7 separate regions of the Homo sapiens genome follow, and regions 1, 2, 4, 5, 6 and 7 are each linked to region 3. Evidence: promoter capture Hi-C in 16 types of primary human blood cells and fetal thymus (Javierre and others, 2016). All regions are on one chromosome and are shown on one strand. Each heading gives the region's core, a stretch centred on a gene start or on the middle of the fragment in contact. The rest is flanking DNA. Distances are from core to core; before and after follow the strand shown. Region 1 has its middle 420 kb from the start of ACVR2A. Region 2 has its middle 500 kb from the start of LINC01911. Region 3 holds the start of ACVR2A (activin A receptor type 2A). Region 4 has its middle 470 kb from the start of ACVR2A. Region 5 has its middle 390 kb from the start of ACVR2A. Region 6 has its middle 480 kb from the start of ACVR2A. Region 7 has its middle 440 kb from the start of ACVR2A.

Region 1 (3,727 bases), core at 642-3,141, 420 kb before region 3:
AGTGCTCAACTTTTAGCCAATGTGAGATATGAAAAATATTCATGCAGTACATATTGGTAGAATCCATCCAGAGGCACCTGTAAAACAAATTTGGAGAAAGCCCTCTATGTTAGGCCGGTTTTTATTAAACAACTGTTTTTCAAGCTCATGCTCCTCTTTAGGAATATTTAGGTATTAAAACCTTGATTTCTCTAATATTTAAGGAGCCATTGCCCTTGAGTGTAGATCTGTGTAGACGCAACATTTCATGGCAGACAACCATCTATTTTAATTTTACTGTTAAATACAGCTATATTTCCAACTAGACACTTCTATCTGGGTGTCCTTATAAAATGCAAACTTTTAAAACTATTCTCACAATCGTTTTCCTCAAACTAAGATCTACTATAGCATCTCTTTCAATAAATGGCATAACCACATGCAATCTTCCAAGCTGTAAACCTTGTTCCCTGGTCAGTTTCCCTTCCTTCTCATCTGCACATCATGTACTCCCATTGATTTCACCTCCATAACATGCCACATATAATTGTCCTTTGCTCTAGCCCCATTGCTGTTATTTCAGTCCAAGTAAAAAGGTAACAAGGGTCTAGATTCTTCCAGAGGCTCTCTCAGGAACCCATGGGATAAAGTCCCAGGTCCCAACCATGGCCTGCATGGCTCTTACTTTATGGTCTAGTTTCCACCTAGTTTTCCAGACTAGGCTACTGAAACCTAATTCCAGCCACACTGAACTTCTTGCAGCTCCCCAAATCCCATAAAGTCTTATTGCTGTCTATACTTTCGCTCTTTTTTTGTACATTCTGCATAAAATGCACTTTCCCCAGCCCTATCTTCATTTGTTTCAAAATTCAGCTTAAACACCACCTCCTCTGTGAAAGCTCCTCAATTCTCATAGACTCGTATGCCTGATTTTCATCTAGTAAATTTTCTTTACTAGATGAAAACTATTCCTACAAAAATGGAAATTAGATGTTAAGTGTATAAATGATAGGCAGCTTCTTAAGGAGGAAAAAAAGGTGAAAACGAATTTTTAAAGGAAAAAATGGCATTACTCTTACCTTTATGATTATTGTTACTATTATCTGTGGCCTTTTGTTTATAATTTAATGTTTTTCCCATTCCTAGTTTATTTTTATTTATTTTATTTATTTTTATTTTTATTTTATTGAGATGGAATCTCGCTCTTGTTTCACAGGCTGGAATGCAGTGGTGTGATCTTGGCTCACTGCAACCCCTGCCCCCGGGGTTCAAGCAATTCTCCTGCCTCAGTCTCTGGAGTAGCTGGGATTACAGGTGCCCGCCACCACACTCAGCTAATTTTTGTGTTTGTAGTAGAGACAGGGTTTTGCCATGTTGGCCAGGCTGGTCTCAAACTCCTGACCTCAGGTGATCTGCCCGCCTCAGCCTCCTAAAGTGCTGAGATTACAAGTATGAGCCATCATGCCTGGCTCCCACTACCAGTTTAAAAATTATGTACTCTGTTCTTGTTATTTTATTTTTCACCTTTGAAATTTTATTGTGTATGCTTAATAAACTCCAACATAAATTAATATCTTAATCCTTTTCCTGAACAATACAAGGACTTTAAACCCATTTTAAAGACTCCTAATCCACATATTATTGTTGTCCAGTATTTTAAAAGTAAAATGTTTTTTTCTTTTATTCTACAAATCAGTTGCTATTATTATGATTATTTTATGAGACTTTATTGATACATGTTTACCCATTACCGCCCACCAGTTCTTTCTTTTTATTGGCGCAATCATTTAATTACATTGCTGAAACCCTGCCATTTTTTAAATACAAAAATGTTTCTATTTCCCTTTATTGTTGAGAAACAGTTGTAAGATAGTGTTACTAAGTACTCAATTTTAGGTTGGCAACTAGGTTAGTTAGTAGCCCACATAGACAAGAAAAAAATAAAAGATGGTTTAGTGTGATGATGAAAAAAAATTTTCACTCTATCCCATTCATCTTGCAATTTACCTTATCACTATTGAGTGAAGGGACGCCTGGTTTGAAGACTATATTGAAGAATAGTTATTGCTGCCTCTGCACCAGTCTGGAGTGCTGCCTTTAGTAAGCTCCCTAAGACTCAGCGCTGGTACTCTTCCTAGTAGGTTGTCTAACCCACACCTGAACAAGGGCAGCAATGCTCTATTCACAAAATGTATGCTAATACTATGACGGGAAAATCAGATTCAAAATTTTCTTTACTAGATGAAAACTATTCCTACAAAATGGAAATTAAATGTTACTGTATAAATGATAGGCAGCTTCTTAAGGAAAAAAAAAAGGTGAAAAGGAATTTTTAAAGGAAAAAATGAGAAGTATAGTTAACCAAAGTTGTATACGAATTTTTTTTTATTTTGGGTTTTCTTTTTTTTTTTTAACAAGTCAGACACCTTTAGATTATTATATCCCATTTAAGTCATCAATCTCACTCTCACAGAGTATGGATATCAGGGAGAAATTTCAGAAAAGAATTACAAAGAGTACCTAAGGAAGGGGAAGTTAGAGAATTTTAGGCTAGGAAAGAGATGTCAAAATCACAGCAAGGAGATGACTAGTGATTTGAGATATACTAAGAAGTTAATATAAAGGATATTCAAGTTCTCCCCGTCAGTGATAGACCAAAATCAGAGAATATTGTCAAAATCAAAGAGGAAGAGATTTGGGTTTAGGAAAAAGAGTCGTTTGACTTCTTGAGTGATAAAACTCTGAATGATTACTTAGCAAGGTTATGCAACTTTCCAAGAGGGATTGAAAACTGTCTATTTTGAAAGCCTTAAGCACTCAGCTTCCTGCAGGAAGGCACATGCATCATATACCTTCTCAAGAGTACTTCAGTTCTATGAGTTAATGGCATTATCTTATATTCATCATATACTTACACAGTGTGCTGAAAAGCACTATAAACTCTATGCTTATTTAATACTCTCAAGTTTCTTCTCCAGAGCGAAAATATCACAACAGGTTTAAACTCTCCTCATAGCAGATATATTTGATGTCTTTAACCATTTTTGTATCCACCAGCCAGACCCTCCTCAATTTCTTAGTAACTTCTAATAAATATGGAGCACCAAAAAATACACAGCTCTTCAACAAGATCTCAAGCAATGCCAAGTCAAAATAGGCAGATTACCCCATGGCTTCTGCATGTCTTACATCTATTAATACATCCTAGAATCATGTTTGCACTTTTAATAACAGCACTAGGCTGCTGACTCACATTCAGTCATGTCTACTTCCTTTGTATGTACATAATTATTCCCTGTCTTGTGTCAGCTTGGTTGGTTTTTATCCGTAATCTCAACCTGTTTAGCTTGGCCACTCTAAATTTTTAAGTTTATTGAATTGTTTTTCAGGTTTCCCTGTATCAATAACACTGCCAAAATGAGGACTTTGTTTTCTAACTTTCAAATAATCAAGCATAAGGGGAGTTGGGGAAAGTTCGATAATTTTTTTTTTTTTCAATTATTTGGGAGGCTCTCTGCTAGCTGTTTAGGGTGAAATAGACCTAGTTCCTGCTTCCTGATAGATCACAGTCTATCAGAGACAGATATCAATAAATAGTAAACAAACCCTATATGAGAGGTTCTATGATAGGAGAGGCAGACAGCAACCAGACAAAGGGGGACTGGGCACAGAGAGACTTATGGAGCTAGATGCTGTGGCTCCATGTTGCAGTGCCACCTGACCTCCAAAGAGAAGGGTACATAAGAGG
Region 2 (4,037 bases), core at 810-3,309, 500 kb before region 3:
CCTTGTGGATAAGAATTTAATAAATATTGAGCAAAGAACTTTAGTGCTGCAGTATTTGGAGTCATAATAAAAAGTAGAGGTTAATTTTTACAATGTCAAAAGCAGCTTGTGATTAGTATAAAATGTAAATGTTAAACTACAGAATTTTTGAGTCCTCTAATAGCACCCAATTCCTTAATCAGTTTGTACCTGATGATCGGTTATCCCCCCATAATAAATTACTGGTAAGTAATAAGAAATCAGAGGCTTTTTGGTTAATTGTACCAAAGCCAAATCAAAAAAGTTGAGAGAACAAGCAGCAGTAAGATACAGTGGTCCATGTTCACTACAAATTGGAACGTAGGCTTTGAAAGCTCTGAAAACTTTTCTAAGGTCAAAGGCAAGCACTGTTTAACTTCCAAATCCAGGGAAGAATTTTTCTTCAAGAGGCAGTAAAATGAATTAATATCACTTGCCATTTGTAAAGCCAAAACATGATAAAGATTGCATATTTCCAGAATGCTTAATCTATTTTTAATAAATGTATATTACAGATTACATGAATTATATCTTAGGGAAGCTAGCAGCTAGCTTCTTTGATTCGATTCAATCTTTAAAAAATAACATTGCAAATTCTAATTTTGCTTTGATTTTTCTAAATAAAGTATTAATGTGTCAAAAGAACATCAAATTTCTGAAGTATTTCCCCATTTGCCTTCTGCTAATTTCATAGTCAGAATATCACAGATATAGGCCATAGACTTGGCATCAAAAGCAGTGGAATCAGATGTCATAATTGGCCTCAAAGCATGTCTAGATTTCAACAACAGTTCAATGGAGAACAGTAGGAAGAAAAGGCTGAGGCTAGGTTTCAAACTAATGGCTGTAAGTATCCAGCTTCCCAATTCACAAACAACCTGGCCCTTTCAGCTCTGATTTTGATGGGTATAAATGTGTAAAGGGTATAAGCTAATGGGTTGGCACATGACAATAGACTCTGACAAAGTAATGCAAACTCAGGTAGGAATGACTATCTTGTTGCCAGAGTAAGGGAGTCAGTTGATTTGAATTGAAATAGTAACCCAAAATTAGTTGGAGCCATAAAGACCTGGTCTCCTCTCACAGAGAAAAAGGTCTAGGGAGACAGGCCGGGCCCCAGCCAAAGGATTCTGAAGAGTCCTGCAGATGCCTAGCTATAGAAAGTAGGTAAATTATAGGGCTAGTAAGAAAAGGATTTGGCTTACTAAATATACTGATGATCAGGAGTGACTGGATGATAGTTTCAGGGCAGCAAAACTAAATGCAAACCCTACACTGACACCTAACGGGTTGCAATGTGTGGCTAAGGTCAGCTGAGGGAATGCACCGAGTTATGTCTGCAGATAGAAGAACTTAATAATCATAACCTGTGCAAGGCTGGAACAGGTAGTAACTGCCATTCTGAATGAAGGCACTTAACTAAAAATGTTCTTCAGTGAATGATGATGGCCTGTGCCTCATCGGGATTTATGGGTAATAAGATATTATGATAAGCAAAGTCAAGTTTTACAAGCTGTGAGATGAGAACTGACTGTAAATTCCTACCATAGATTCAGCAGAAGTGTTTCAAACACATTGTGTGATGTCTTATCCTACCATTAAAGGTGAGTTTCTGCACAAATAGTATATGGACTATACTATTTGTGTATAGTGGCTGGATGAAAAACACCTCACTTCGTTAAATATCTTAGAACATCTTCATCCACTGCCCACCAAAATTTTAAAAATTCCTAGTTGATTTTGAAATCACCGAATCCAATTGCAATTATATTATCTCTCCTTCATATGCTTCTGTTTCTTTGGTGAACATTTTAATAACATTTTATACATTTCTGTTAACTGGCTATTCTAATAGTATAAATCCCAAGAACCATTTTAAGTTCTTTCTGAAAAGCACTTTGCTTTCCTTGAACTGTTTGTCTTGTCTTCTATTCAAACAAGGGACCTGTTTGGAAATAAAATGATTCACAAGCCAGTTCCTGGAGTATTAACTGGGTAATCACTATGATTAGCCTCAACCACTCTGACAAAAACAAACAAATAACTTGTACACAAATACTATATTGAAAATATACCTTTACCAATAATTGATATATTACTGCCTGAATTTACTTACTAGATTATATTTCAGATATTGAGCCTTTGTTAAGAACTGTTGTAGATATTGCAATGTCTTAGGGTATTTTACCAGGCGAGTGCATATCCAGTTGATTTACAAGATATCCATATCCAGCTGCTATATGCGTTTCTTAGGATTCCTTTTATTGCAAGTGATAGAAACCCAGTGAAAACTAGTCTGAGCCACCCCCACCAAAAAAAATAAAATGATTGGTTATGAAAATGATCAAAATAGCAGCAGATGTGGCTGCATTTAATTTGAAATTTGGTCCCTTATTTTCCAGGTTACAAAGTAAAGTATTTTTATTTTTTAAGATCATAAATCTTAAGGTTGGCTGATCCAGAAAAAACCACTCTAATATAAAGCCTGCCAATAAGGTAATTCTACAAGTTAACTCCTTTGATAATTTTTTGAGATGCCATAATTGAGAAGCTGCATTAGTATGATGATTTTCCAATATCCATACAGAAAAATGTTATATTATCCTGTTGTTTATACTAAAAGATCAGGATCGTTATATCTCTATTGTGGGCAATTTCCTTAAACATCCTCTTTTGCATGTAACATTGTTTGCTTTGCATTTATTTATATGAAATAATCTTTCCTAACCCTGAAATTTTGATTTCATTGGACTTGAACATACATTCTCACCTTTTCCTTCATCTTTCTAAGTGGCTTTTAAAAGTAGGTCTCTTACATTCTGTGTAGAGATGGGTTTCACTTTTTTTCTTTGTTTTGTTTTTAACAAATCTAGTCGTCTGCTTTCTTCCTGTTGTTTCTTAAATTAGGCAACTTTATTTATTTATTTATTTAGAGACAGAGTCTTGCTGGAGTGCAGTGGTGCAATCTCAGCTCATTGCAACCTCCGCCTCCCGAGTTCAAGCAATTCTGCCTCAGCCTCTCAAGTAGCTGGAATTATAGGCACCCGCCACCATGCCCGCCTAAATTTGTATTTTTAGTAGAGATGCGGTTTTGCCGTGTTGGCCAGGCTGGTCTCGAACTCGACCTCAGCTGATCCACCCACCTCAGCCTCCCAAAGTGCTGGGATTACAGGCATGAGCCACGGCACCTGGCCTAACTTTATTTTCTTTATAGTTGAATTGACATTGTTATTCTGACATAATTTTGGATTTACTTGTTATTTCATATTTGTAGCTTGTATTTTTAAACATTAGGTGTGTGTTGTCATTGTTGTTTCATTTTATTTTGTTGTCTGTTTGTTTTGATCCAGAAAAGTACTTTTTCTTTGACACTTGGTAATTTGAAAAGTGAAATATTTCTTCCCTTTTCACCCATTTCCCACTAGTGTTTTAGTTAACTCCTCTGGAATTTTCATGCCAGGACATCTTTATCAAAATATTATTGTATTACCCACCCAGTATATGCCCCCACTCGATTTCATTCCTTACCTTTCTTTATAGTTTTATCATATACACATATGTAAGTGTGCAAGCACACTGACACATAAATATGCTTTCTTAATCCACTATTTGATTTTGGCTGTTTTAGGATTCATATAATGCAATCATTCCATATGTATCATTTTAAGATTCCTTTCTCAAAATCATGCTTTAGAGATTCATCCAGATTGATGTGTGCAGCTGCAGTTCATTAATTTCCACTGCAGTAGAGAATGCTACTGTAGGAAGACAGCACAAATTGTGTAATCATTTAACTGGGTCTGGATATTCTTGTACATATGCAAATCTCCTGGTAGTGGTTACTGTATAAAAGTTTCTCCGGTGTGCATAATATGCATAGTTATGAGTTATTTTGATAATCAAAGGGGTATAGTCATGGTCATCTTTATAAGATAAATGCACTATGTTCCCAAAAGTATTGTTCCAATTTTTAAACCCAGTAACAATATGTGAGTGCCCCCATTGCTCCACATTCTTGG
Region 3 (3,697 bases), core at 1,107-3,606:
GAAATACTGAAGTGATGCACAGATAAGACAAGAGTGGGGCCTGACCCTAACTGACATCAAATTCTCTAATGAACTTCAAGTGTTTCTAGAGTAAAATATACTCTTCCATTCCAGAACCGTTAGTACAACTCTTAATTCAACCAGAAAATGGAAGGCTTACACATATTCCTTTGACCAACTCATAAAGATAGGAGAACTACATGAGATCATTCAGACACCTTTAATACCGACTTGGGACTTTGTAACTGTTCCAACATCAGTCAAATTCTGAGCATCACGATTTGAGAACTGGCAATCTTGGAGAGATTTAAAGAGCCACGTTGATTATTAATAACCCTGATAAGTTGTAGAAATGGGCAGATAATTACAGGATGAACTTAATAGACAGAAATACAGAGTAATTTAGAGGAAGTAAACTGCTGTAAATATAAGTGAGAAGACTTGGCTTTGTGGGAAAAGGTGGGAATCAGTAAACCACAAATGAAACATGAATTAGCCATATTATACAGTTGTTTTATTAAAAACCAAAACTTTGTAGAGTACATTAACAGAGACTGTATTTAAGAGAAAGGCAGTCATCCCTTAGTCATTTATACAATTATTTATTAAGCACTTATGTGCTAGTTGATACTTCTGGGTGCTGGAATAAAATAAGGAAAAAATCAAGATCTCTACCTTCACGAAGCTCACTAAAGTGTGGTAAATGACAGAGCAACTACCTTCAATAGTCTCTAGTTTGTATTCTGCAACCAACTGAATACAGCAAATACTAAAAGCTACTTGAGGTAGGGATCCATCCTATTTTTACCTGTTGGATCCCATTCCGTGCCTAGCACACCAGCTTGTAAGCAATCGACATGGATTAAGGGGTAAAAACAGGCCCTTAAATAGCTAAAATTTTGACAAGTAATCACTTGTCTGATCATCAAATATGTCGTTCGAAATCCTCATTTTTTTCTTCAAAGCGCAGTAAACAAGTATTTGCGCACCTATTACGTGCAAAACAGTTTTCAACACAATGCTTTGTGTGTAAAAGGAACGGCGGGAATGGATTCAAGTTGCGCATCGTGATAAATGGCGTGAATATCCTGAGCGGGTGGACAGCCCTTCCTCCGTGAGTTTTTTCTTTTTCTTTTCTAGTCACCAAGACAGCACGCGTGTGCAGAAGCTGCAGCGGTGGGACGCAGTGCTAAGTCTGGGGGCGCACACACCAGCTCGCGCGTCGCGAGCTCGCCTGGGCAGCTCGGCGGGCGCGGCGAAACAGCTCCCACGTCCGCCTTCCACCGACTCCTCGGTATCAGAGCGGACGAGGCGTCCCCCCAGAGGAAAGACTGGGCGCCGCAGACGCCCCTTGGAGAAGTCCCTGGCCACTCGCCCCACCTCGGGGTCCTCTTCCTCTTGGGCTTCTCCTGACCCTTTGGGTGGGCGCTCCAGACAGGCCCGTCGGACGCGATTTGGAAACGGGTCGTGCCCGGCCTAGCCCGCATCTACTCGCCCGGCCACAGCCCAGCCACAGCTTAGGGACTTTGAGGCGCCCGCGCCCCTTTGTCGCGGTATCTCTAGCCCAAGCAGGCCGGACGCCGAGGCCTCGCGGTATCGAGCCTCCGTCCGCCCCGCCTCCTCGCCCTCCACTCCGCCCCGCCCTCGCTCTCTCACCCCTCCCCCGCTCCCGCCTCGCTTCCCCGACAATCTCCTCGCGCTCCCGGCCCGGCACGCGCGCTGCGCCCGGCCGCCGCTGCCGCCGCCGCCGCCGCCGCCGCTGCCGCCGAGCGTTCCTCCGCTGCGCCTGGCTTCCAGCTTCGGGCCGGAACCGGAAGTTTGGGGGGCGGAGCCCGGCGGAGGCCAGGAGACCGAAAACGCGGCCGAGCCCGGAGCCCGGAGCTGGAGCCAGAGCCTGGACCAGAACTTGGCCGCCGCCTGCACCGCCGCCGCCGCTGCCGCCCGCCGCCCCTTCCCCGCGCCGCAGCCGCCTCGCCGCCACCGCCGCGAGCTCGGCCGCCAGTGGTCCTCGGACTTTAGGTGTCTGGGTTGAAGGTCGGTCCGGACATCGGACCCAGTCAGTTCCCAGACTGTCCGGGCGGCAGCGGACGCCGCTGCCGCCGCCGCCTCTTCGTCGCCTCAGCCTGGCGTTTTGTTCCGAGAGACGGGAGAGGCGAGCGGAGCTGACAGTGATTTTGACAGTGATTTAAACCCGCTTTTGTTGTTGTTGGCTTTTCGTTGTTTGGTTTTGTGTGTTGTGCGTGTGTGTGGCGGTTTTTCCCCCGTGGTGCATTTTATTTTTTATCGTTGTGCTCTTTTTTTTCTTTTTTTTTTTTAACCCAGTGAGCGTTTTTTTTTTTTTTTTTTTTTTTTTTTGGTCTGGGCTTCCGAATATGTTTTATGACGGTTGATTTTACACCAGGAGGTTTGTCTCCGAGGAAGACCCAGGGAACTGGATATCTAGCGAGAACTTCCTCCGGATTCCCCGGCGCCTCGGGAAAATGGGAGCTGCTGCAAAGTTGGCGTTTGCCGTCTTTCTTATCTCCTGTTCTTCAGGTAGGTGCAGGGAGCGCGGCGCGGTGGGGCTGCTCCTGCGGCCGCGGCGGCCGCTGCTGGGGGCCGCGGCTGGTGTTGAGTCGGAGAGTCCAGTGGAGCCTGGGGAGGTTGCCCACTCCCTGCGCCCCTCGGCTGCCACCGCCCCCCCCCCCCGCCCCCAGGTCTGATTGTGATCTGGAAACCTCCATGCATTTTTCTCTTTTTGAGTTGGGTCGGCGAGCTGATAAGAGTGAGTGCTGTGTTGTTGTGGAAGTGAGAAAGTCATGTTTTGTGGCCATAACACTGGATGACAGCGCTGGTTGGGTTGCAATTAAGCCGCAAATACCACAAGTGACAATTTATGCAAAGGTTGAGATCTGAAAGGAGTATTTAGTGTGGGCTCCTCCAAAACAAGGGTTGCTTTTTGTCATCGTTTAATTAGTGCTTCACCGGTGAATATCACGACATAGATCAAGCCAGTTGCTGCTTAATTTTGGCTGTGGGAAACAATACATCCTATCAGCAATTTAATCTGGGTCTCCCCTCACGTTTTCTTCAACTTCAGCGTCCAGCAGTGTTAAAAATAGTTGTAGTTGTTGTTGGAGTATTAACTATAACCCAGTGCAGAAGAGGTATGCCGCTTGGTATTGGTAATGTGCTGGCGTTCAACCACCATTTGTGTGCTCTTTTGGGGCATAGATTTTGCTTACCTACGGAATACTTATTTTAAACGCTTTGTATTGAAGCATTGTTTTCGGTTTAGAACAACCCATGTGAAATTGTTTTTGTTAAATATAGTACACTCATAAAATAGGTTTTAGCTCAAGGTTGGGGGAATAAACGGGCCATTTTATATTGGAAATTTTGATTTTGTGAGGACGTTCTATGGTTGCAACCAGTGGTTGGAAAAACTATCTAGTCTTTTGTATTTGAAATTCTATAAATAAATACAGCATCTAGCTGAAAGGTGTGCAGATGTACATAACAGGAGAGTTAGTTCAATAGATGAAACATTTTAAATAAGTCTCATTGGATCTATTTATTGTAAAATTTAATATTCAGTTACAAGCTTGTGGCATAGAATTACGGGGGACTCTTGGAAACGGGGGCGAATTGACAGGTTTCATGGCCATGTCTTTATCTCGTTTGCCACAGGAAAATTAAAGGGTGGTAGTCTTCTTTG
Region 4 (4,176 bases), core at 900-3,399, 470 kb before region 3:
TTAAAGTTTGCCATCCTTCAGATTCATTTCCTGAGATAATCCCACTAAAGTTCCATTAGTGTCAATGGAAATCTTGTACCTGATGCCAATAGCCTTTGATCCCAAAGGCCCTCAGCAATTATTTCAATTTGTATTAAACTTCTGTTATAGGATGAGGTAAAGTGTGTGTGCATGTGTGTGTGTGTGTGTGTGTGTGTATTTGAAAATTCATTCATTTTTTGCTATTCACACTGGTTATTCTGCAGTTTTCTCATACTCTGTCTTCAAGTTATGCTAAAGACATGGTCTTGCATAGAATTTGCTTATGTTTTTCTTATGGTTGAGGAAGGAGATTTTTGCAGACGTTAGCTCAGCCACCACCATGGCCCTAAACTACATGGATGGCCAATAAATTTATCTTGAATATGGTGACTCAGTAGTTTAAAGAAGGCAACTTTTCTAAGTTAATTTCTAATTTTATCATGGTCCCAATCAAATTTCTGAGGTATTCATTTGGGGACTTATTCATTTAGGGTGTGGGTTTTTAAATAGCAGATTGTATCTGAAAATTTATTTTAAAGATCATTCACTAATGCATTTTTCAAAGAAAATAAATTAGTCAAGATGTCTATAAAAATGCATATGGATGAGGGATAATAATGATGAAGATAATATATATCATGTATTACTACAGGTATGTGATAAATATATCATTGAAAACTCAGAGAATAAAAAAGAAGTTACTTAATAAAGAATGCTAGCACAATTGCCAGGTGATACACACAGAAAGAAAATTGCATCCCTATCTTACCCCACCTGCAAACATTTCAAAATAATCAAATTTCTAAATATAAAGCTTAAACAAATAAATGAATAAAAGTACAATAAAAACCAGATTGCTCTTTATATAATATTAAAGTGGAGAAGGTTTTGCTATGCATATCATAAAATTTGAAAGACATAAAACTGCATATAAAATTAAACATTCTTCATAGCAATTAATATCATAAACAAAGTCAAAACACAAGGAAGAAATACTTGAAAACATCTGTCAATGAGATATTTTCTTTAAGACATCAAGGTTTCTCACAAATTGATGAGAAGATCAACAAACCAATAGAAACGTTTACACAAGATATAAATGGTTCACAAGAAAAACAAAATATTTGCAAACTAACATAGCTAAAGGTGTTCAACTCAAAATTAAACCTAAGACAAAGTTTGACACCTATGGGATTGACTTTCTCTAGGTTCCTCAACTCTTCAATTTTCACCTTCTCTTCACTTTCTGGGTGGACTCAACTACACCTCAGACATCAATTATCACCTGTGTGCCAGCCAAATGCTCATCACAGACTGTCTTCTGAGTTCCAGACCCCTCTTCTCTTCCTCCCCATAGTTTAACAGTCACCAAGAGCTTCCAGTTCTACCTCTTTCCTATCCCATTAAACCAAGTTTTCCCAAATAGAAGACAGCAATCTTTAGTTTGTCATGAAAGCAATTTAACAGGATAGGAACAGCATTTTAAAAAGAAAATATTACTAAGTGAATGAAGCTAATCTGAAAAGGCTGCATACTATGTGATTCCAACTATATGGCCTTCTGGAAAAGGCAAAACTATGGAGACAGTAAAAAGATCAGTGGTTGCCAGTGGTTTGGAGAGATGGAGGAATAAATAGTACACAGGGGATTTTTACACCAGTGAAACCATTCTGTATAATGCTATAAAAGTAGGTATATATAATTATCCACTTTTTAAAAACCTATAGAATGTACACCACAAAGAGTGAACCCCAACGTACATTACAAACTTTGGTTGGTTAAAAAAATATATAATAGAAGCTGGGCGGCCAGGCGCGGTGGCTCATGCCTGTAATCCCAGCACTTTGAGAGGCCGAGGCAGGCGGATCATGAAGTCAGGAGATCGAGACCATCCTGGCTAACACGGTGAAACCCTGTCTCTACTAAAAATACAAAAAAAAAAAAAAAAAATTAGCTGGGCATGATGGCGGGTGCCTGTAGTCCCAGCTACTCGGGAGGCTGAGGCAGGAGAATGGGGTGAACCCAAGAGGCGGAGCTTGCAGTGAGCCGAGTTCATGCCACTGCACTCCAGCCTGGGCGACAGAGCAAGACTCCATCTCAAAAAAAAAAAAATACATATATATATATATATATATATATATATATATATATATATATATATATATATATATGTAAAATAGGAGCTGGGCATGGTGGCTTACACTTATAGTCCCAGTTACTCAGGAGACCGAGGTAAAAGGATTACTTGAACCCAGAAGTTCAAGGTTGTAGTGAGCTATGATCATGCCACTGCACTCCAGCCTGGGCAACAGAGCAAGACCCTGTGTCAAAAAAAAAAAATTGTGTATCATGGGCTGAATTGAGTCATCACAGAATTCATATATTGACTTCCTAACCCCCAGTACCTCAGAATGTAGCTATATTTGAAGATAGGGTCTTTAAAGAGGTAATTAAGAGAAAATGAGTCATATGGGTAGGTCCTAATCCTATTATGACTGGTGCCCTGATAAGAAGAGGAAATTAGGAATACAGACATACACAGGAAAAAATCATCATAAGATACAAGGAAAAGATGATCATAAGACAAGGAGAATGGCCTGGAACAGATCCTTCTCTCATGGCCCACAGAAGACACCAATCCTGCCAGCACCTCGATCTTGGACTTCTATCTCCAGAACTGTGAGAAAACAAATGTACTCTGTTTAAGCCACCAGGTCTACTGTATTTGTTTCAGCAGCTCTAGCAAACTAATACAAATAGTGTAGCATGGCATAGCATAATACAGGATAGAAATTAGAGTACATCACAGGTAGTGGAAGTAAATATTGTTCAGTAAAAACATTAGTTTCTGATGGGGGCTCTGTATATGGAGTCATGTATGTCTATTTCTTAAGATAGGTCATGATTAGAAAAGTTTAGAAAGCACTGATCTAAATGATCTGCTTTTTATCCTTCTCCATTACCAATACCTTAGTTCAGGCCTTCATCATTTCTTACTGAAATTACCTAAAAAATGTATTGCATGATCTGTGCATTTATTCCTCTATTCAACAAATACATATTGAGGAATTACCATGTGCCAGACACTGTTTAAGGTATCTCCAAGACCTTGAACACACCCTGCTCTCATTCAGTCACAGTCTAATGTCTCCACTGCAGGTTTTGTTTTCTCTATATATCCATTCTCCACAACCCTGAGAGAAGTCCTTCTAGAATACATATTTGATCACTCTACTCTGCTCAAAACCCATTAGTGGTTTTCCAACAAGTTTTGTGAAAAGTGTAAACACTCTGAGCTCATGAGAGCTTTCATGATCTGCTGCCTGCTTGTATCTCTCATATTTAACAGCTCTCGCCTATACACTATGTTCCAGATATATTAAATGATGTACATTACACCTCCCCACATATCACGTGCTCTCTCAGAACTTTGTGCTTTTATATAAGCTTCAGCTTCTATCCTCCTATCTGCCTTTCACTTTGATAACTCCTAATTATACTTCAAAACACAGCTCAGCTGCAACTTACTATCCCCCAATGTCTCCTTTCTATTAACACTTCTACCACTTCATCTTCACAAAACCTAGACTAAATTAGCAGCCTTACCACATCAAGCTAATTGTTTACTTTTTTGCCTATGTCTTTCATTAGTTTCGTGAGTCAATGAGAATAATCATTTTGAGGCTTTTCTAGCTTTTTCTACATGTTAGCACATTTCCTAGTACATAAATGAGTAGATGAAAAGAGGATGGGTGGATAGATGGACAGATGCACAGCTGTTTACATGGGAATCCTTTCAGTCATTAATAATTCATCAAAATGTTTTTAGAAATGAGCATAATAGACAAAACATGCTGTGCTATGGCATGCAGAGAAGTGATAAAAATTATAGAAAAGTATAAATTGCAATAAGCCAAATAAGAGATTTTACAAAGCTATATTATTACCTACCTTGCATTTTGTAAAATATTTTACTTAAAAATTGCTATTAATGATAACTGAAATGAATGTAAACATTTCAATGATTCCTTGGAGCGAATCATCCCTTGTTCTCTAGATACCAAGTAATATAGATGTGGGATTTTGGGGGAAACTTTTTGCCACAGTGTCTAGCCTGTGATGTCTTAATTATAACAATAAATTAATAACATGAAT
Region 5 (3,885 bases), core at 1,381-3,880, 390 kb before region 3:
CCATTTAGGGGTAAATGTATAAAAATCACTCAGAAGAGTTGTTGGTTTTGTTTTGCTGTTGGTGGTGGTGGTGTTTGTTTCAAACTACAATGTTCATCCCCACCTAAGATTCTGGAATATTTATGGTCTGGAAAAATTCCTCTGGTGATTCCCAGGTCCATTGCTTTAAGAATTCTTTTAATATAACATAGAAGTGTTTGTTTTTACTAACATTTGCATATTGAATTATCTTCTTTTTTCATCTAAAAATTATGGTGCAGCTAAAAAAACTCTAATTTAGAGAATTGATCCATCTAGTTCTTTGTAAGGACTTAACTGCATGGCTAGCTCTGCTTCTCTATCTATACAGACAAATATGCCTTCTTTGTCTTTCATCAAATTGCAAACATTTGCTTAGAGAACTGGGTCTGGTGAGTTGACACTACCAAACACGGTGCCTTGTAGCTAACTGGCTTTGCTATAGTCAGCCAGGATGAAACAGCAGCCAATGAACCAAGCCTAAAGCACAGAAAGGAAAACGGCGCTGTGAAAGAAAGAGAATAAAGCACTGGGCTTTGCAAACTAGGCTAAGGCCCCAAACCACAAGATTATCTTGATGCATGTGATTGGGAAGGAGGACTAATTAGAAGAGAGGATGTCATTTTATTTTCTAACCAGCCCTCTCTGATCTGAAGCCATGACACCCCCTCACTTGTTACCTAGCAACCCTTCTTTGTATATGTAAGGTTACTTCATTCCTGCATTGTTATTCAATTTATTTGCCATTTTAAGTGTCTTGATCCTCTCTAGGATCACCCTGGTGTGATTGGCTGGCATTAGTCTCTAAAATACCGGAGGGCAGTCTATTAAGTGGATCCAAATGTCATTGTACAGCTCACTGTAATCTACAGATCTGTGCTAAACAAACGCTGTGGATTTCACCTTGGTCTTGATGATTTTACCAGAGCCCTCCCCCTACGCAGCCCCAACCAACCAGCCTCCGCCCAACCCAGAAAATGCTGTCATTGCTTTTATCTTGATTGAAAGAATATATGCAGGACTGGTTCCTTTAACTTAGTGGAAAAATGACTATCAATTTAAACATTAACTGATGCCCAATCTAACCACGAAGCTAAAAACAGAATTCACTTCAGCACATAGCAGAGTTTCTCAGAAAATCACCACCCTACTAAACTTCACAATTTCACCTAAACCCTAGCAATATGTAAATAGGTAATCAGCCACATTTGGAAATGTATTTTTTAATCAGGTAGTTTAGATGCATAATCACCTCCAAATCAAACTGCCATTAGAGGCCATTAACTCTTAAAGGAAGGAAACTCAGTTGGCAGTCAGAATTCTATCAGAGATAAAGAGATGCTGGCTCTACCTTTAATTCTTGTAAAATCCTGGGCTTGCACTTTTCTTCCATCTGCCCCTGTTTTTTTTTTTCTCCTTAAAAGAGAATTGTGATTCTTTCCTAATGCTAGATAAGAATTAGGAGGATCAACAAAACAATGAACACATAGCACTTGAGTTCTTAGAAAAGGACTGTTGCCTCTTTATCGTTACTATTTTCCCCTCAGTCAGTCACTTCAGAATTTTGCCTAATGTGAAAACTCCAAACACCTTCAGAATACCAATCCTAGTACATTCTAATATACACTATCTATATACAAACTAATATACATACTGATGATACAATTTACTGAAAGCAATTATACAGTATTATTCATTCTAAAATGACCCCCATTGCAAAAACCCACATCCATATTCATTGCAGTACTCAAGTAATTCTAAAAGCTTCACTGCCATTCTTTTGGGGTTTTATACTGAAAAGGAATTTGCAAGCATGTGTTGTCTACCTCCCACTGTGTGAGTTGGGGGGATAATGGCAACAGGTGGACCTAAGTCCTGGGATATGAGACAGTGGGATGTATGGCCTGCCAAATTTAGATAGCTCAATTAAAACAGCCCCATTCATCCATACCAAGAACAGAATGCGGAGAAGCTGGGGGAGGGAAGGAGGGAAAGCAAGCGCAGGTGACAGCAACTGTGGATTTTCTTCTCTGGGGTCATTAGCTATGTTTATATTTCTATAGCATAACTGTGTTACAAGCTAGCATGGCTATTTTTGCCTCTGCCTCATCATTCAGTGCAAAAGGGCAGAGGTGAGTGCCTATAAATTCACACAGCTGCTGGCTAGGAGAAGGCATTTGGAAAATAATTCAGTAACATGGGCCTTTATTTCACTGAAGGAATTGTTCTTTGAGGAACATTCCCCCTAAACCATGAGAGCACTCAGGTTCCTGCAAAACCTTCCCAGGCTAAAGCAAAGCACAATTTCTAGTTCTTGTGCCAGCCGGAGATATGCAAAGATTTTTCTCAGCAGGAAGTCACTCACAGACATCACATGAATATTTAAACAATGGGAAGCCAGCAAAAAGATTCTTTCACGCTGCAGGATGATAGTGACTTCTGAAATTATCACAATTATCATTCCATTATTGCAAAACAAATGACCTGATTTATTATGCTCTGCCTCTGCTCATATCTGGATCTCTTCCTGATATATTACACAACCAGTTACTTAGGCATTCTACACAAACAGCATTTGTATCGACTACTTCATTAATATTTTGATTACTATAAATCTCAGGGACTCAATCCACATCCTAGGCTAGAGTCATCTCTCCCCAGCCTCTCCCTCTGAAGAAGACGATGAGAGAATTTGAGAGTGGGATATGATGATATAGTCTACGGAATTCTGGGAAACGAGTTAGCTCATCACCTAAGTCTCCCTTCAGGGCAATATGCTCCTTGCTTACATCCCACAGCAGAAAAAATCAACAGTTCTTCAATCAGTGTAAAAAGAAGTTTACATTCAAGAAATCTAGGCGGAAATGCTACTCTCAACAATTCCAGTGCTACATGTAACAGTCCATCTTTTAAAAAAAAAAGTTTTCTGGTTGTCTTTTCTGTGAGAAGTAAAGATGTGGAAAAAAAGTCACGGAGGAGTTATAACAGTTAAGTAATTAGTAAAGTAGCAAGACAATACTAAAAGCCCGTTGTTTTTGTTTTCAATTATGTCCTCTTCTAAATCCTTCAGCTACCTTAGGCTGCTTTGTGCACCCTGTGTACCAACCTGTGACCCATCTGTAGGGAGAGCAAGTTTGTTTACCCTCTTAGCAAAATTCAGCAGAGTTGTCATATCCCACTGGTGACATGGTGGGACATGAGAGGAATTCTGGGACAAAACGTCAAACAACACACTTGGCAAAAGCAGATTATGATAACATGCATGTTGTAATAAGACAACTAATGAGCCATGAGTCAAATTCCCACTTCAGCCACTGGAACATTATCACAGTTTAAAGTGCTTGAAAAAGAGTGTGTCAGTGATACACTAATGACTTTAAGTGGGCTCATGTGTCAGGCTGGAGGTTGAAAAGAAAACTGCAAACATTTTTCATGTGCTGTGAAATGACAGCAAGTGATTTGAAGCTTTACCTGTCCAGTAACAACTTTAATCAACTCTTTCCTCATCTGGGTCTAATTTTTGCTCAGAGGGCACAGATGGTGATCTGCTCTCAAGGTGAATCTAAACTACATTGGTCCAGGTAAACTGCCAGTTAAACCTTTAGAGGAAGGAAGGAAGGAAGGAAGGAAGGAAGGAAGGAAGGAAGGAAGGAAGGAAGGAAGGAAGGAAAGGCAGAATTAGCAGGATTCCAAAAGCAACTGACCTTGTGGAACCTTGTGAAACTTCCATTACAATAAATATTATTGAACATTATATAGAATATTATACAAAAATGAGCAAGACACATTCCCAGTTCTCAAGGAGATGATAATATTGGAGAAATATAAAGAGCAAGAAGAATGAGGGTAATTCATTTGAAGGAGGTC
Region 6 (3,767 bases), core at 349-2,848, 480 kb before region 3:
AAGCCAAGAAAGCAACCCAAAAAGATGGCAGCTGTGGGAACACAGATTAGGAAAGGAGTCATCTGAGCAGCAGCAAGAACAGTGGGAGGCATCAAACTTATCCAAACCCTGAAAAAAGGTTCAGAATCAGGTGGCTCCTCCTGTGACAGAATGTGAAGGAAATCTAAGACAGGCACACTAAGGGAGTGTCTGAAATTATTATCTCCGAGGATTCAGAGAAAATATGTGCAAGTACATATAAACTAGCTAATAACAGCAGGTAACCCAGAAGAATTGGCCTATGTTGGGTTCCACAGTTTTTTACATTTAACCCACCAGGCACAGATAGAGTGGGCGAGGATGAAGAGTAAATGCATTTTGATATTATACACTAACTGCAGATTGGTTCACACCCAGACCTGGCCTCATCCATGTGTATCACCCAGCACTGCATCCCAGCTGACACCAGGAGTGGTAAAAACAAAAAAAAAAACAAAAACAAAATCTCTAAATTGGATGGAATTTGAAACAACAGGAGATTGAATTTTTCTTTCTATTGTTTTTTTTCTTGGTAGTTCAAAAATGTGACATATTTATGGAGAAGTACAGATTGTTCCTATCCAAACACAGTAGTAGTTTCTTTTCTAAAAATAAACATGGCCAATTATATTTTAGGGAGATTTATTTTAATTTATCTTACTTTTAAACAAAAACATTTTAAAGAAAATTTCTAAAGACTTCTGAAATCTTATCATAGAACAAAACCCAACACTAAATATGACCGTGGGCATTTTTTATGGTACATAAACACTCTGCAGCTTTGTGTAAGTTTCACTCATTCTCATTCACCAAATATTTATTGAAAACCTACCATGTGACAATCACTATACTGGATGAGTGGAAGTCAAAGGCAATTAAAATCTGGCAGGTGAGTTTGTAAGGAACCTATACTGTAATGAAAGAGACTAACCAGAAACCCATTGATTATGGAGCCACATGACATACCTTGGTTTCCAAAAAGAGTTGAAACTCATTTTATACTCACCAAATACCTTAACAACTTGGTTTTATACCTCAATGAGGCAGTACTAATATTAATAATAATAATAGCTTCTAACACTTACTGAGCTATAATTATATACCAGGCAGACTAATAAATGTTTTACATAGATTATTTCATTTTATCTTTATAAAAACTATGAGGGAGGCAGAAAAATTAAAATTTGTCACAACTTTTCAGCTAAGGGACATGAGGCACAAAAGTATAGCAAATTTTCCAAGATCACATAGCTAGAAAGTAGTAAAACCAGAATTTGAATTCAGGTGGTTGGAGTTTTTCCAGGTGGCATCTAAATATGCCATATGAGGCATGATCCATTTGAACCAGATCTTTCCTACTAAGCTATGTTAGAATAGCTGGGCCCCGGAAGTACATTCCTCTGTACCTTCAAACTATCTAGGACTAGGGTGCCCCAGTCAGTCCATATCTATTAGCCAGCTAATATCTGGGGCACTGTTCGATACACAGTATGCATTATTGGATCTGCTGATTTAAATGGTCCAGTCAATTCCTTAATCCCTCCCAAAGGTCCTACTCATTCATGAAAATTTGCCAGATGGAAAACAATTGATTAATCTTAAGTTTTGGGTACTTCTGATTTGACCACTCTGGCCCAAAATGAACTTGTATCCCTGAGACATAAGCAGCTCCAAATTCTGAATACATACTAACCAACAAATTCTCAGAGGAAAATATCTACCAAGAGCCACTCACTTCAGGTGCTTCAGCATCTGTTACTTCATTCCTTTATTTATTCACCTGACAGTAGTCAGTGCCTACTAAGTGCTGGGCATTGTTAAGGCACTAAAGTTAAAACAGTAGATGTAGTTCCTACCCTTATGGAGAAATGGTCTACTAGGAAACACTATGACACATAATTCTTTGGCAATAGAATTTTATTTTGTAATTTTTTATAAACATTTATTTTAGTGTTCATACCAACCTGCAAGATGCGAGAAAAGTTCTTATGTCATTCATTTGTGAAATTATAACAGCTCTATTTGTTGCAGATATATTTGGTAGATGAACCACTATGAACAGGATAAAATGATTTGTCTAAATGAATACAGAATAGAATGTGGTAAGTCTGGAACAAGTTACATGACTATTCTGAACCATTAGACCCTGTAACTGACTTTAAGTTCACATGAAGTTAGTAAATCTAGACAATCTCTTCTGAAGTCATTTCAGTAAGTGTTTCTTATTCTTAAAATCCTAGTGAATTGAAGTTTAACTACCAGGTGACTTTAGAACTTCAGATTACAATAGAGATCAACTCTTTCTACAGCCCAGTCACCTTGCCTTTCCCCCACCAAAGTGATGGTTAAAAGATGAATGGTTTTGAATGCTGATTTTATTCCAGCCATTACCAAAAATATGTAGTTGACCTCTCCTCCATAGATGAGCCAAACTCTTCGCCACTGTACCAATAAATATTGGTGAATTTCTTTGCCTTACAAGGATATCTCCCTAAGAATGTTTCACTGCAAGCTGCCATGATGCATGCCAAAAGTAGCCAGAAGTAGAGAACTGCTCTGAGAGATTTCAGAAAGCCCCTTCTAGTCCACAAAACTATGAGAAAACTGCTTTCTAACATGGCCACCTTATCCTCCTCTCATCAACCTGTGGATAATGAGCACTGATTCTGAGCCCAACACTGCAGATAATGTGAACAGTAAGATATTATCCTCATCATAATGAATTTATAGAGGCAGAACTGAGAAGCAATTAAAGAAAAGAAAATAATAGATGAGCATAAAATTAATTGCCAAATTGAGTGATTCCACATCTAGGAAAAGGAAAAGGGAAAAGCACGCAACTTACATCCCAACCACTTTTGCTACCTTTTCTAAGTTGATCCTACAACAGCCTTTTAAAACAAGTGTTATTTTTCCCATTGTGACTTAGAGGTGATATACACATGATCACACAGTTAGAAGTAGGAAACACTGGCCAGGCAAGGTGGCTCACGCCTGTAATCCCAGCACTTTGGGAGGCTGAGGCGGGTGGATCACGAGGTCAGGAGATCGAGACTATCATGGCCAGCATGGTGAAACCTCGTCTCTACTAAAAATACAAAAATTAGCTGGGAGTGATGGCGCATGCCTGTAATCCCAGCTACTAGGGAGGCTGAGGCAGGAGAATCACTTGAACCAGGGAGTCTGAGGTTGCAGTGAGCCGAGATTGCGCCACAGCACTCCAGCCTGGCGACAGAGCAAGACTCCATCTAAAAAAAGGAGAAAAAAAAAAAAAGAAGTAGGAAACACTAAGGATTACACCCACATTTTTTCAACTCCAAAGTCCATGCTTTTTCCAGCCAACCGTAACAATGTATTTGATATCCTGTTAATAACATACTCTCCACAGTGGAAGTGGTGACTACACTGCATCATCTTTAATGTTTGTTCAATATGAGTATCTCTCCCAAAATAAAAATATTTTAAAACTATTTAAGTGAATAAAGAAATGCAAAGCTTGCATTACTACTTTCTTCTCTATAAATCTTCTCTTCTAATTAATAAATAGTAGTACTTGCACTTTATTATTTGTGACTTCAGAAAGATGCTCGGGGAATTACACAGTTGAATTTGGGGTAGGAAAACAATATTAGCTTTAGGCATAGAGATGAATGGATTTAGAGGCAGTAAATCAGGAAACCAAATGAGCTCTCACAGCTCAATATTTTAGAATTAGTTTCAAGTACTCAACAGACAAATCAAGAACCAAC
Region 7 (3,946 bases), core at 1,274-3,773, 440 kb before region 3:
AATAAGTAAAGATATAACTAAAGAAAACATTCCAGGCTTTTAAAAATGTCCTAAATACATGCATATAAATAATTCAATATGTTCCAGAAAAAAAATAAGTAAAAAAAATCTATATCTAGAGGAATCCTTGGACAGTGTTTTTCAAGAATAAATAAGTTTCTTATAAACATTTAGAAAAAATGTATTCTACACTTAAAGGAACAAAATTAAAGTTAGCCTCAGACTTCTACTTTGTAAATTAAATTGCAGAAGACAAGGAAGATGCATACAGAATTTTGAAAGTAAATTTAATATCTAGAGTAATCTATTTGAAATGCATAATCGTATCTCCATATTAAAACTTCTCAAGGATTTTCATTGCCCTTATAACAATGTACCAAATTCCAACAGTAATTCACATGGCCATCCACCATCCACAACTGAGTTTTTACCCACTCTTTATAGGATTTATATGTCCCACTCCTCTTCACTTTCAGTGTTTTAAGTATACTGGTCCTCTTTCAGCCTCTCAAATTTGCCATCTGCTCCTACCTCAATGCGTCATTCATGGAGTTTCTGTTACTCAGAATATTCTTCCTCCTACTCTGCATTTCTGCTAAAATTTCAGGTCTCAGTCTAATGCAATTTTTTTAAAGTAAAAACGTTCGCTGATCCTCAAACTAGGTTGTTGTGTTGTTCCTTCTGAATTACATACCAATATAATCACCCTTATCTCTCCTTTTTGTCTTCATATCCTTTACGTTTTAAATATCTGCTACCTAGTAAATTATAAGCTCCAAGAGGGCATGGGCCATATCTGTCCTATTAACCCTTATAAGTCTAATATTTAACATTGTGCCAGGTACATAGAGGATGTTCAATAAATAATTGTTACAGGAATGAACATATTAATGAATGAAACACACAAATATTCTTAAACATTCAAGAGCTTGGAAAATACATTACCCATATGCCATTCTTTAAGAGTATGTGTGTATATGGGTGCACATTTCAGCCACTCAAAATATCAATCAAATTAAGAGCTCAGAAATGAAAACAACGTGCTGTAAAATTACCAGTGGTGAGGACTGAGATCAGTGAAATATGCATGTGCCTACAGAAGTATTGAAAACATAACACATTAAAGGCGAATAAATAAAATCCAATTTGAAGTTAGCTAAAAATTATCAGAAATATCTATTAGTTATGGCATTATGGCTGATTTTTATTTTTTCCCATGTTCTTTTATATTTACCAAATAGTCTATAAAAATATGTAATATTTTTATAATTGAAGAATTACATATTTTTCTATAGAAGAATATACAGTGAAAATTGGGGACTAAGCACAGTAGTGCATACCTGTAATCCCAGCACTTTGGGAGGCTGAGATAAGAGGATTGCTTGAGCCCAGGAGTTACAGACCAGCCTGATCAACATAGTGAGACCCTTTCTCTATGCAATTTAAGTAAAATAAAATTTTTAAGTAAAAAGAAATTAGAAAAAAAGAAAACTTGGGGGAGGGGAAGACAGTTAATAAAATGGTCAGTGCATTGTCTTTGTCAGTGATAGGTTTAAGGACATGGCCCTTTGACCCAATTTTGACCAACAGAATACAAATAAAAATCTGCTGAGAGGGAGCGTTTCTGGAAAATATTTTCCTTCTTGATGAAAAAGGGGGGAAATGGAAAAAAAAATCTTTGCTTCTTTCTTTGTCAATTTTAGATATGGCTATGTAAAAAAATTATCCCACTACAAAACATCTGAAAATTGCTCATCTACTATACTGCCAGAAAAAAAAAAACCTCTATTCTTCTCTCATTATAAAGATTTGTTTATTTTTATAACATTATTTGGAATTTTTAAAGATAATTTAAGCTTTTGTTTTAGATTGCAGATTTGTTACATGGGTATATTCTATAACACTGAGGCTTGGGGTACAACTGGTCCTGTCACCAGGTACTAAGCATAGTACCCACTAGGTAGTTTTTCAGCCCTCACTCTTCTCCCTCCCTCTCTGTTCTGGTAGTCCCCAGTACTTATTGTCCCTATCTTTATATCAATGTGTACCCAGTGTTTGGCTCCTGCTTATAAGTGAGACTAGGCAGTATTTGGGTTTCTATTTCTGTGTGAATTTGCTTAGGATAATGGCCTCCAGGTGCATCCTGTTACTGCAAAGGACATAATTTCATGTTTTATGGCTGCACAGTATTCCATGATATGTATGTACCACATTTCCTTTATCCAGTCCTTCACTTATGGGCATCTAGATTGACTCCATATATTTGCTATTGTGAATAGTGCTGTGATGAACATACAACTGTATGTGTCTTTTTGGTAGAACAATTTATTTTCCTTTGGGTATATACTAAGTAATGAGGTTGCTAGATTGAATGGTAGTTCTGTTTTAAGTTATTTGAGAGATCTCCAACTTGCTTTCCACAGTGGCTGACCTAATGTCTATTCCCACCAACGGTGTACAAGCATTTAAGATTTGGGAATTTAAAATCTTATTTTCAATCTACTCTTGTCTTACCTTAACTTTTATAAGATGCTCTTTAGTATGATGACTCCTACTGTTCTTTACACCTGAAAGGATTTAACCAGTTTTTATCCTGTGAATTTCAGTTTTTCAAGACCAATTCAGATATAATCTTCATTATAAATTATCTTTAACATTTTGAGAAATAAATTCTTTCGGATTTATTTTTTGTTAATCAGCCAACTAATTTCATTAGAAAACTCTTGCAAAGTATTAAGGAACAGGTAGTCCTATGTGCAATAAATATTCAAGAGATACAACTAGAAAACTTATATAGATTCTGATAATATGGAATAAAGATGCATTTTCTTATTCCTCTCACTAAGTACAACTAAAAGTTCTGGACTGTAAGACAAACATTAGTGAACTAAAAAATGGAAAGAAGAAGACACACTGAATAGGACCTTCAGGACTCAAGAAACAACATGGTGATAAGTTCCCTGGGTTTTCTTTATGCCTCATATATTCCAGAGTTGGACCTAAGAAACTGACAACCTCAAAGAAGTAATAGCTGAAAATTTCCCAAATTTTGCAAGAGACATAGCCTACAGATTTAAGAAGCTAAGCAAACCCAAAGCAGGAGAAATACTATGAAATCACACTACAAAACATCATAGTCAAAATTCTATAAACAAAGACAAAGAAATCCTAAAAGTAATGAGATAGAGACAAAAGCTTACCTATATTAAAAAATAATAAATCAGAGACAATGGATTTCTTATCAAAAACTATGAAAGCCAGAAGGAAGTGGCACAGTTTTTCGAATACTGAAAGAAAACAACTATCAACCAAGAATAATGTATGCAGAGAAAATATCCTTCAGCAATAAGGGGAACTCAAGACATTCTCAGATGAAGTAAAACTAAGAGAATTTGTCTTCAGCAGACCTGTCCTAAAAGAATGGCTAAAGAAAATTCTCTTAACAGAAAATAAATGATAAAAGTAGAATCCTCGAAACAAGAAGGAAGAACTTTGTAAATAAAAATATGGATAAATGCAATATACTTTCCTTTTTAAAATTTTCCCAAATCATGTTTGACAATTGAACCAAAATTATAACACTGTCTGATATGGTTCTAAATGTATGTCAATGAAATATTTAAAACAATGCTGATGGAAGAAATCAATGATCTAAAGAACAGGAGAGATATACTGTGTTTAAGGATAAAAAGACTTTACATAGTAAAAATATTAGTTTTCCACAAATTTATATGCAAGTGTAATGCAATTCCTATTAAAATCCTTGCTCATTTTTCATAGATATAGACAAGATTATTCAAAAAATAATATGAAAAGGCTAAAGAAGTGGAATAGTTAAAAACAAATTGCAAAAGAAAAATAATGGAAGAGTAAAGAGTCTACCTGATTTTAAGACTTTTTGTCTGGCTGCAGTAGTCAAGACTGTGTGATACTAATGGAGCAATCT

Evidence for each region. Contacts are between HindIII fragments. The CHiCAGO score rates a contact against its expected background, and 5 or more counts as called.
Region 1: a fragment that was not itself captured here is called in contact with the fragment with the promoter of ACVR2A in region 3 in 1 of 17 cell types (M1 macrophages); the score reaches 5.0 in M1 macrophages.
Region 2: a contact is called between a fragment that was not itself captured here and the fragment with the promoter of ACVR2A in region 3, in 2 of 17 cell types (M0 macrophages and activated CD4 T cells). The highest score is 5.5, in M0 macrophages.
Region 4: a contact is called between a fragment that was not itself captured here and the fragment with the promoter of ACVR2A in region 3, in 1 of 17 cell types (M1 macrophages). The highest score is 6.7, in M1 macrophages.
Region 5: a contact is called between a fragment that was not itself captured here and the fragment with the promoter of ACVR2A in region 3, in 3 of 17 cell types (M2 macrophages, M1 macrophages and activated CD4 T cells). The highest score is 7.4, in M2 macrophages.
Region 6: a fragment that was not itself captured here is called in contact with the fragment with the promoter of ACVR2A in region 3 in 4 of 17 cell types (M1 macrophages, M0 macrophages, naive CD8 T cells and 1 more); the score reaches 5.5 in M1 macrophages.
Region 7: a fragment that was not itself captured here is called in contact with the fragment with the promoter of ACVR2A in region 3 in 3 of 17 cell types (M1 macrophages, M2 macrophages and M0 macrophages); the score reaches 5.9 in M1 macrophages.

The regions. Positions count from the first base shown.
Region 1 is chr2:147,421,738-147,425,464 of GRCh38, forward strand. No RefSeq gene overlaps it. Among named protein-coding and RNA genes, the nearest start is that of ACVR2A, 420 kb to the right of the region's middle. The HindIII fragment of the contact is 5,932 bases long and covers 1-3,727 here.
Region 2 is chr2:147,338,750-147,342,786 of GRCh38, forward strand. No RefSeq gene overlaps it. Among named protein-coding and RNA genes, the nearest start is that of LINC01911, 500 kb to the left of the region's middle. The HindIII fragment of the contact is 4,160 bases long and covers 1-4,037 here.
Region 3 is chr2:147,842,673-147,846,369 of GRCh38, forward strand. ACVR2A (activin A receptor type 2A) reads left to right here and starts at 2,357. Exons shown (of 11, transcript NM_001616.5): 1 at 2,357-2,535. The coding sequence starts at 2,481. RefSeq lists an enhancer at 707-1,457 and silencers at 1,584-1,773, 1,854-1,963, 2,719-2,798. The HindIII fragment of the contact is 3,923 bases long and covers 1-3,581 here.
Region 4 is chr2:147,376,123-147,380,298 of GRCh38, forward strand. No RefSeq gene overlaps it. Among named protein-coding and RNA genes, the nearest start is that of ACVR2A, 470 kb to the right of the region's middle. The HindIII fragment of the contact is 2,633 bases long and covers 834-3,466 here.
Region 5 is chr2:147,448,953-147,452,837 of GRCh38, forward strand. No RefSeq gene overlaps it. Among named protein-coding and RNA genes, the nearest start is that of ACVR2A, 390 kb to the right of the region's middle. RefSeq lists an enhancer at 449-964. The HindIII fragment of the contact is 1,701 bases long and covers 1,781-3,481 here.
Region 6 is chr2:147,360,039-147,363,805 of GRCh38, forward strand. No RefSeq gene overlaps it. Among named protein-coding and RNA genes, the nearest start is that of ACVR2A, 480 kb to the right of the region's middle. The HindIII fragment of the contact is 3,826 bases long and covers 1-3,511 here.
Region 7 is chr2:147,401,143-147,405,088 of GRCh38, forward strand. No RefSeq gene overlaps it. Among named protein-coding and RNA genes, the nearest start is that of ACVR2A, 440 kb to the right of the region's middle. The HindIII fragment of the contact is 1,339 bases long and covers 1,855-3,193 here.